2 separate regions of the Homo sapiens genome follow, and region 1 is linked to region 2. Evidence: promoter capture Hi-C in 16 types of primary human blood cells and fetal thymus (Javierre and others, 2016). All regions are on one chromosome and are shown on one strand. Each heading gives the region's core, a stretch centred on a gene start or on the middle of the fragment in contact. The rest is flanking DNA. Distances are from core to core; before and after follow the strand shown.

Region 1 (5,174 bases), core at 1,190-3,689, 3.1 Mb after region 2:
TTCCTGTCATTATTTCCTAAACAATACAGTGTATCAACTATTTATATTGTATTAGGTATTATAAGTAATCTAGAGATTAAAGTACACAGGAGTATGTGCATAGGTTATATGCAAATACCACAACATTTAATATCAGCGACTTGAGCATCTGATGATTTTGGTATCCACCGGGGTTCGTAGAACCAATCTCCAGAGATAACCAGAGACAACTGTACTTAACTATAAAGGTAAAAAATTTTCAGTCATCTACTATCTGAAATCATCTCTACTTAAAAGTTGTACATGGAAATATGTGGAGAAAGAGGAGGGCTTAGGACCAAGCCCTGGGAAAGTGCCATCTTGAAGTCAGGTAGTGAAGAGAAAATAAATGAAAGAAAGCAATAAAAGGAGAAGAGAAGCAACCATATGGTATCCTGGAAGTCAAGAAATGGCAGTATCTGGTGGAAAGTGTGGTCATGCTGCTGAGAGGTAAAAAGAAGGAAGAAAACTGACCCTTGGGTTTGGCAACATGGCAATTAACAGTGACAAGAACCATTTGGGAGGCCTGATGGGAATGAAAGTCAAATATAAGTGGTTGAAGAGAGATTTGGAGGTGAAAAAGTGACAACCACCTGCAAAGAAAAATCCCATGAAAAGGTTTCTGTGAAAGGGAGCAAAGACAATGTGGCAGCTGGAAGGAGGCCTATGGGAAGCAGAGGAACTCTTTCTTAGCTGTAGTGGGGGAAAAGCAGAAGATGGGTGCAGATGCAGGGAGAATTGTATAACACTGGTAGGAAGAGCAGATTCTCATGGAATGAGGTCATCACTGAAATTGAGGGCAGGGAGTGGGTTAGATCACTGATTCTTAAAACATAGCTGTGCATTGAAGTCATCCAGCAGGTTTTAAATACTGTTTATGCTCAAATCTCACTCCCAAGAGACTCTGATTTAATTGGTATGGGGTGAATCCTACCATTCACGAGTTTCAAAAGCTCCCCACTTTCCACCTCCCCTCCATTCTCGGCCCCAGGATTCTGATATGCACCAAATTTTGAGAAATGCCAGTTAATAATTTTTGAGGATACAGAAGATACTAGGCACCAACTAGTTGCATAGATCCAGACTGCTACGTAGGAAAAATAAAATAAAAGTCATTTCTTGCTTTCAAGGCACTGTAAATCTGTAGGCTATTCAAAAATCTAAAATCATTCCAGAAAATATGAAAGTAATTTAGGAGCATTAGCAATTTAAAGTATATTAAAGAAAGCAGGGTACAAACCATATTCAATGATGCAGAATCAAGGGGAATAAGAGATCAATTTTGGAGATGGTGGCTCAGGGAATGTTCACTAAAGGAGAGTATTGAGCCATATTTTGAAGAAGTAAAGTGCAAAAATTGACAGCTATCTGAAGCACATTTCAGATAGAGGAAGCAACAAAAGCTTTGTAAACAAAAGCAGGTGATCAGGGAAACTATGGAGAAAACACATTGCTGAGCAACTGAAGGATAGGAGTGGGAGAGAGAATTTTCACTCTATACCACTTTTTTTAGCCTTTTAAATGTTGAAACATTGACAAGTTTAGCCTTTTCAAGAATCAATCAATTAATAAATAATGGCTTTTTAAATGGGAAAAGAATCATCTAGATTGAGACCATTAAAAAATGAAAAAATGAGAGTAAAGAGATACAGATGAGCCCATTATAAAAGTATTGAAAGTACTAGCAGTGCCCACAGGAATATAATCTATTTTCTCTACCATTCACCTGAAAAGACAGAATAACATTTTATCTAAATAAGACCTAACATCACCGTAGTGAAATGATCCTTAGCAGGCACAAAGTAAAAAACCAATGTGGGCCAGGCACAGTGGCTAACACCTGTAATCCCGACACTTTGGGATGCTGAGGCAGGTGGATTACTTGAGGTCAGGAGTTCGAGACCAGCCTGACCAACATGGTAAGAGCCCCATCTCTACTAAAAATACAATATTAGCCGAGCATGATGGTGCATGCCTGTATTCCCAGCTCCTTGGGAGGCTGAGGCAGGAGAATAGCTTGAACCTGAGAGGTAGAGGTTGCAGTGAGCCGAGATCGCGCCACTGCACTCCAGCCTGGACAAGAAGATCGAAACTCTGTCTCAAAACAAACAAACAAACAACAACAACAATGAAAAACAATGTGGAACTCTATCCTTGTGTGTCTAATTCTCCCACTGACAGAAATACTACAGCCAGACCAAATGTGTTTCTTGTTGCTGTTTATTAGGAGAAATTTTTGCTTTTGTTTTCAAAGTACTTTGTAGCCCTTAAGCCATTAATTACTTTAAAGAGATATTCATATTCTTTCATTTGGCCTCTTTTTCTAAAGAAAGGATAAGGAAAAAAGGTTATGTTTTCTTCAGTTCTCTCTTCATGACTCACAATTATGTTGTAAGAACAACTTTTCATTAACGCAGGATGTTTACGTGCCTTAAACAATTTCCAGAAAAGCTGAGTTCAAGTGCATAACAACACTGAATATTGGCTGCAAATTGAATTATAAATTACTCAGAACCATCTAAGTCACAGTTAATGTTGCCTGTGGCTTCTGAGTATAGTTCTCAATTTATCTGTAAGTTTTTGAAGAGGCGAAATTGTATTAGGTGCTGAAATTAAAACAAACAAACTTGATATATTAAAGATAGGGTATAAAACAGTAAAACTGGGGTGATTTTCTGCATTATAAAATTATTTCTTTACTCTGGTATCTTTTTAATGGAAATTTTCAGTGTAGTTAACTACACCTGAAGAGACAGAATAATAGTTTTTCTAAGTAAGACCTAATATCACTGTAGTAAAATGATCCTTAGCAGGAACAAAGTCAAAAACCAAAGTGGAACTCTATCCTTGTTGAGCAGATCTGATTCTCCTACCGATGGAAATATGTAAAGGCAGACCAAATGTGTTTCTTATTGCTGTTTATTAGGATAAATTTTGTAAATTATTTTTAATTCTTTTTAAAAATCAGTGTAAATAATTTTTCACTTTTGTAAAATGAAAATAGTCATGAAATATTGCCAGCATTCATTCTTCATGCTAATAATATTTTATCTTGGTATGATGCATTACAGTTAAAAAAGCACATGACTTAGCTCATGCAGTCTTCACAATAGTCCCATTCTGCCCAAGAGAAGTGGAATGCTCACATAGGTTGATTAGACCAACGTCTCTTAGCTGGGAAGCATAAATGTCAAATCCAGTTTGTTCTGAATTCAATTTTCCTCTTTTTTTCCACTGCTGCATCTTTGCCTCTTACCGTTTGTGTTTCATGTTCAAGTTCTCTGCATGTTATTTTAGTATAGCCCAACAAAACAAAATTTACAGTCAGAATATTTATATATGTAGATAAACTTAGCTGTTAAAGACAGCTCAGCACAACTTCAAACAATAAAGTATCGTTTATGTGGTGAAACCAGAGTGGCTAAGAAGCGAAGCTTGGTTTGTTTAAACAGGATATTGGGGTTGGTTTTTTTTTTTTTTAATTTAAGGGTAAAAACTATGATATGAAAAGGTCCCAAACAACGGCAAACTGATGACCACAAAGCAAAGTTTACCATTTTTTTCTTCCTACACAGAGACAGCATCTGCAGCAATTTCATTACCAATTTTTTCTTTTTGAACTCTACTGAAAATTTCAAATAAGTACTTAATTTCAATAATTATAAATATTTTGCCATATTGTTTATGCCTCCTGCATTAAAAAAATTTTTGGAGCATTTTAAAGCAAATTTCAGAAATCATTTTATATTAACCTTAAATATTTTAATGTGCTTTCTTTAAAAATAATAAAACAAAGGACATTTTCTTACATAAACAAATGCCATTGTTTTCTCTAACAGCATTAACAATAATTCCTTCATATTACCTAGTTCTAAATCTGTATTCAAATTTCCCCAATTATGTAAAACCTTAAAAAAACAACCACTACCACTAATTAGAGGTTTAATGACATCAGCTTCCAACCAAGGTTCACACATTTTACTGGGTTGTTCTATCTCACAATTCTTTTTAAATATCTCTTAATTTAGAACAGTTTTCTCCTCTTTTTTCTCCTTCCCTGAATTCTATTGCCTTATTGAAAAAAAACAGGTCAATTTTACACATTGTGGATATGGCTAATGCTTCTTTGCATTGTCTGCTTGGTGGCTTTTTATTTTCAGTGCCAAGAAATTAGTCCTGAAGACTTGAACAGATATGGGTTCAGTTTTTTTTTTTAAGAATACTTCATAGGTGGGGTTGTGTAGTTCATTTTCATGTTGATTACATCAAAAGGCATTTGGTTCATCTGGTTGTTTTAGTTTTACAATACTAAGATTGATGGTGGGGGGTAACAGCCATATTCCTTCATTGTAAATTTCCTAAACTTTCATCTAATGATTTTACAGCAGATTAATGACCTTTAAATGATTCATGTGAAGGTTTAAAAATTGAGATTTAAAAAAAATTCTATTAGTTCTTCTGCATTTATTAGCTGAGATTCTTTTGTTCAGAGAAATTTTTCTCATCAGTTAGTTCAGTATAAACTGAAACATAATTCATAGCATACAGACAGGATAAATGCTTATTTTTTCACCTTTATTTGTATCTATTTATTTGAGACAAGATCTCACTCTGTCACATGGCTCACTGCAGCCTCAACCTCTTTGGCTCAAGCAATCCTCCTGCCACCTCAGCCTCCAGAACAGCTGGGACCATGGGCAAGTGCCACTGTGCCCAGCTAATTTTTCTTTTTTAGAGAAGAGATCTCACTGTGTTGCCCAGGCTGATCTCTAACTCTTGGCCTCAAGCAATCCTCCTCTACAGCCTCCCTAAGGCGGGAGCCACTTTGCCTGGCCTACTTCTTCACCTTTAATTATCAGTCTTGAGATATGAGTAATGAGTTGGTGCTGTGGACACTTCCAACAGCATCCAGCAAATTTTTTTTTCTCTCTCCTCCTCTCTTTCTACCTTTTTCTTTCTCCTCCTCTGTCTTCTCTCTGAACTCTCTTCTCTTCAATTTGAACTCATTACTTTTTAAAAATTCAATAGGCTTGACTCAAACTTGTGTTCATTATTATTTTTGATGCTCAATGTATTCCATTTTGGCCAGTGAAAGAGTCTTCAAACTTGTTCTCTGTCTTCTCTCCCCTTCCATTCACTGTAATAATTTTTATTAA
Region 2 (5,584 bases), core at 2,155-4,654:
CTTAGTCTATCTTAGTCAGCTTGGGCTGCTATAACAAAATACCATACACTGGGTGGCTTACACAACAGAAACTTACTTCTATTAAAGGTTGGAAGTTCGAGATCAGGATGCCAGCATTGTTGGGCTCTGGTGAAGTCTCTCTCCCTGGCTTGCCAATGGCCACATTCTCACCCTCTCACTCATGTGTCATCACTTGATGCCGAGAGAGAGCAAGCAAGCTCTCTGGTGTCTCTTCTTATAAGGGTACTCTAATCACAGCATGAGGGCCCTACCCTCATGACCTCATCCAAATCTAATTGCCTTCCCAAATCCTCATATCTAAATACATCACATTGGAAGTTAAGGCTTCAACATATGAATGTGTGGGGAAGGACATAATTCAGTCCCTGAAAGAAGTGTCATATTTCCAAGGACAGTATATTTCTGTCTGGTATTAACTCCCAATCACCTTGATTGATCTTGATGTCCTCAAAATTTCCTCAGGTAAACATTTGCAAATGATCTCATCCACTACATTCTTTAAAAATAGTATTTTTTTCTGATTATAAAGTAACACATTTTCATTGCAAAAAATTTAGAACACAGAAAAATACAAACAAGAAAACTGAAACTAATATAAACATGTATTTTATTTTTCTTTAAAATTGTACTGCAGTTTTGGGGGATGTATTATTTTCAGAAAGATATATCATCAACTGAATTTGTTGGGTGAAAGGCAACATAAGTATTTCATATTTGGCTTTTATGATGCTATGTAGATTGAAGAATTTTTTTGTATATAATGAATGCTAAGCCTTCATGTTTATATTCAGATATTCATTTTGCAATGAATAAAACAGACAAATCCCTGCCTTCATGGAGCTTGTTTTAAAATCCATTTACTCCCTCACTCAGAATATATTATAACATGCCTACTGTGTGCCAGGTCTTGTGCTAGATACTAGGGAATACAGTGATGAACAAGATATTCAAGGGCTTGGTTTTCAATAGAACTTGATTCTAGTGGAAAATTGACAATGTGAGGAATACAAATATGAATAAGACATGATACTTGCCTTTAAGAACCTTAGAAGGAAATAAGATATGTACAAATAGCTATAATCCAAGTGAATAATTCAAAAGTGTTTTTAGTGTAGAAGTTGAGGAAATCTTAGAGGAACTGATACTTGAACTAGACCTTCAAGAATGGAGAGGATCTGGATGGATGGGGTAATATTAGGGAGTAAGGTGAAGATGGGAACAACTAGTGTGGGAGGCTGGCATATTAGCAAAGTTTTGAAAACAGTAAAGCCTGGAGCATAGAAAGTGATTGGCACTTGAGATTGATGAAGAGAATTAGAGATAAGACTAGAAAAGAAAGTTGGCACTGAAATCATACTAAATAGATCATTGGCTAAATATTTTTATTGAAGTACTTTCAGAAGTATGAAACTATGTAGAAAGTGTTAAAACTTTTTTTATCATGTCATGTATAGTTTTAAAAAATTGCTCTCAGTTAAGATTCTCCTTATTCCTCAAAAGCTTTTGCTTTCCATGACTTTGTTGCAAATATAATCAATTTACTTATTTTTAAAACTTAATTTTTATAAGAAAGGTTATCAGATGATTGTTTAAATGTTTTTTATTAGTAAATTTTCATTATATTGTCTCCCAAAGAACCACTGTATTTTTTTAATGTCTCAGAACATTATATTTTTATATGAATCATTTATGTACCTCTCTGTAACAAGTGGGAATTGCTTCATGGCATTTGGGGAGTACGTAATATTATATTTATAGTTGACTGACTCAAATCCAGCCTGAGCCCTCTGGCCTGGTGAGAATTCCAAAACTCCATTTGTTGATGTGCGCTCCATCTTCCTTACATGGACCCTAAAGCACTTACCTCTCCAGGAGCCCATTCCTTCTAGAGCATAAGAGTAGTGCCTTGGAGGCAAACAGACTCCTAGCAAAGGTCTTCCTTCCCAGGTTTACCATTTGTCCCAACTCCCATTATCTTTAGGGATCTACCTGCTTTTCCTGTGAGTACAAAACATTTCCTTTTCATGAGTACAAAACATTTCCTTAACCCTATAATCATGAAACCCTGTCTACTCTCCTGAAACGAGGAAGAAAAATAAATCCTTGCTGAGATGTCTATAACACGTTGAAGGAGGGAAGGTGTTAAAAACAATAAAAAGGGCAGGGCTGTGGTGGCTCACGCTTGTAATCCCAGTACTGTGGGAAGCCAAGACGGGCAGATCACTTAAGTCCAGGAGTTCAAGTCCTCCTGGGCAATATGTGAAACTCCTCTCTACTAAAAATACAAAAATTAGCCGGGGGTAGTGGTGCCCACCTGTAGTCCCAGCTACTCAGGAGGCAGGAGGATCGCTTGAACCAAGGAGGAGGAGGCTGCAGGGAGCCTAGATCGCACTGCACTCCAGCCGGGGTAATAGAGTGAGACCCTGTCTCAACAACGTCAACAAAACCAATAAAAAGATAATTTCGTATTTAAGTTACCCAAGAAGGAACGGTAATTTGGATCAGATCTTAGATGATGACTAAGAAAAAGAACACTCCGGTAGAGGAATTAACTTTACAGAACGCACTGAGGCAAAAAGGAATACAGTGTTCAAGAGTAAACATTGAGTGTCAGGAGAAACATTAGATAGGAAAGGGCAGTTTGTCTTTCTAAGAAGTTTACACTTTCTCCAATAACAGTTGTTTTTGTCTTTTATAGGAAGCGCGGATTCTATTACTGGAAACTTTGGGACTGAAAGGCCAAAGCTTCTGGGCCCACCATCAACGCAGCTCCGCTTTCATTTCTTTCACATACAACTTTCCACATAAGATTTCATGCGGAAAAAAAAAAAAAACTCACAAAGGTTTTATACTGATAACAGTATATTAAGTGTTTACTTTGTACACAGCGTCTTTGTTCCAGACACTTGCCATGTCTCATTTATTCTCACACCACCACCACAGCGTCCTTTACAGATGAGAAGACAACCTCAGGGAGACGATGTATTTGCCTAGGTCCCATAGCTAGCAAGTGACAGCGCTGCAGTTTAAGCTCAGGCCGTCTTGGGGAGAGACCGTGCTCTTCTACCATTGCACTTTAAGCTGACTTTAGGGGAAACACAATCTGAGTTTTGACAAGTTTACTTCTGGCACATGCAGTCCCGAGCACTGCTTTTTGGCTAAAATGCCCAGTGATGTCAACTCTGTCCCTGGATTTCTACAACCCGATGAGTCAATATTCAGAAGAGACGTCGAAAGGAAAGGGTTCAATAGACAGAAAACACACCAGACAGTCCCAGAAACCCCAGAACCCTCGCCTCTGCCGGCGCGGACAGCCAAGACGTCACTTAAACGCGCTGCCGCCTCCTCGCCCCGCCCCGCCCCTGCGCGGAAGTCTATCCGGGCTTTCGCGTCACCACCCTGCCCACCTGGGTGGCGCGTGGCTTACGCAACGGTCACTGGGCTCCTGGGCCGCTCCCGGGCCAGCGAGGGCTGCGAAAGAAGTTGTAGGTACGGCCCATTTTTCTTAACGCCGCCCTTCCAAGCCCTTTGGCGCTAGTCCCGGGTCTGCCGCGATCGTTTCCTTGCGGTAGGCCGCAGGAGGGCCTTTCCTCCCCCTCAGTTCAATGGGATTCTTGGGCTCTTCTCCCAGACGCTGAGGGAACAGCCACAGACATTGTCTCTCCTCTCCGTGACTCCTTTCCTTACTCCGTCATCCCACATCTCTCTTGTTTGTTCTCTTTTCCTCCTGTTTTTCTTATTTTACAAATACTCGCCAGTAAGAAAGAAGAGATCTGTCAGTTAAGATTGACCTCAAAATTAATTTTATTAAGCGTGTACTATTTTACAAACGGTGGATCCCTGCAAATAAACCTTCACATACATGCTCCTGCGACTGGAGATTCTGGGATTGGTTGCCGATCCTGAGAAAGCTCTCTTCCCCCACCCACCCACATCCACGCCCCTTAATCCTGTTTACTCCTCTTGGCTTTAACCCAGGGGACAAGCACTTCCAGCAGTCCCCAACCTTTTTGGCACCAGGGATCAGTTTCATGGAAGACAGTTTGGGGTGGGGGGCAAGATGGGATGACACTCTTCTATCTCAGATCATCAGGCATTAGATTCTCTTGAGAAGGCGCAATTTAGATCCCTCACATGCGCAGTTCATAATCAGGTCTGTGCTCCTATGAGAATCTAATGCCTTTGCTCATCTGACAGGAGCTGGAGCTCAGGCATAATCCTCTAGCCCTGCTCACCTGCTGTGTGGCCTGTTCCTAATAGGCCACAAACCTGTACCTGTCTGCTGCCCAGGGGTTGGGGATCCCTGCTTTAGACCAGTGCTTTTGAAGGAAAAAGGAAAGTTGCACACATACTGTGTCTGTCACATCAATCAGTAGTGTTACAAGAGCTCTTCACGGGACCATACCAGGTCCCTCACTCCCCCTCTATGGGTGTCCTAGAGCCTGTGAAATAACAGATTTGGTGATGTGGGGAGACAACTGGCCCAGGTGGCACTGAGGGAGGCCACACCCCACTCTCTGATTTTCCTTAGAGATAAATATAATTATGTGTGCAACAGAAGCATGAAAAATGACACTTATTATTGTCACCCCTAGAGAATTCATGCCCCAAATATTTTAGTCACTGTGTGCCTATGAAAAGGGCATTCATAGGTATTGTCCCCTGTGAGTACCAGAATTTTTTTTAACTTACTTTTTAAAATTCTATACAGATTTAGTTAGTACAAGTTCAGTTTTGTTGTGTGGATATATTGCACAGTGGTGAAGTCTGGGCTTTTAGAGTACCAGAATTTATACTGCTGTTTTTCAGTTGGCTCTTGTCATAAGGTCCTGCCAATTACTAGACACAAGGAAATAGGTGGGTGCTATAGTTGTAACATATAAAGTATCGTTTTTATAGTACTTCTCATTTTGTACTTATTTTTGTACTCATCCTGTTTAAACACTTCTGTTGGTTAACCAAATCCCATGTTACTGTGGTGTTTACTAAACACTGAGATTGAATAGTACCTGGAACATAGTGTAATATATGTTCAATAAATATTTTTTGAGGGAATGAATGGATGAGCTTCTGAAGAAGCCATACCTTAGCCACTTTTGTTTTTCCTGGATCCAGAGCTTAGTCTAGCAGTAGTAAACTCACCAGTGTGAGTTAAGTAGAGAAGTCAAGTGACTTGCTTAGGGAAAGGCATTCATTAAGTATTTTTTAAAGAATATCCTACTTTGTCAGGCGTTGTTTTAGGCATTGTGAATACAATGGTAAGAAAGACTAGCAAGATCGCTGTTCTTATGAAGTTTAAATTCTAGTGAGTGTAAGATAGAAAATAGGTAAACTATATGAGCAAGGAATTTTGGATAATAGTAAGCACAGTGAAGAAGTAAAACTGTAAAGGTCTTCCTTAAGACTGGGGGAGGGGTTAGTTTAGATTGATTGCTTAGTGATATTTTTAAAAACCAACCATGGAAATATTTGGGATCAGCGCACTACAGGTAAAGGCAACTCCAATTGCAAGAGCCCTAAGGAAGGAAAGAACTTGGCTCCTTCCAGGAACATCATCAAGACC

The links. Contacts are between HindIII fragments. The CHiCAGO score rates a contact against its expected background, and 5 or more counts as called.
Region 1: a contact is called between a fragment that was not itself captured here and the fragment with the promoter of SLC9B1 in region 2, in 1 of 17 cell types (non-activated CD4 T cells). The highest score is 7.3, in non-activated CD4 T cells.

Annotation. Positions count from the first base shown.
Region 1 is chr4:99,964,152-99,969,325 of GRCh38, reverse strand. All of the region lies in intron 1 of H2AZ1-DT (H2AZ1 divergent transcript), which reads right to left. Among named protein-coding and RNA genes, the nearest start is that of H2AZ1-DT, 16 kb to the right of the region's middle. The HindIII fragment of the contact is 2,031 bases long and covers 1,424-3,454 here.
Region 2 is chr4:103,017,525-103,023,108 of GRCh38, reverse strand. SLC9B1 (solute carrier family 9 member B1) reads left to right here and starts at 3,404. Exons shown (of 12, transcript NM_139173.4): 1 at 3,404-3,510. SLC9B2 (solute carrier family 9 member B2) reads left to right here. Exons shown (of 12, transcript NM_178833.7): 12 at 1-856. RefSeq lists an enhancer at 3,063-3,563. The HindIII fragment of the contact is 6,332 bases long and covers 2,769-5,584 here.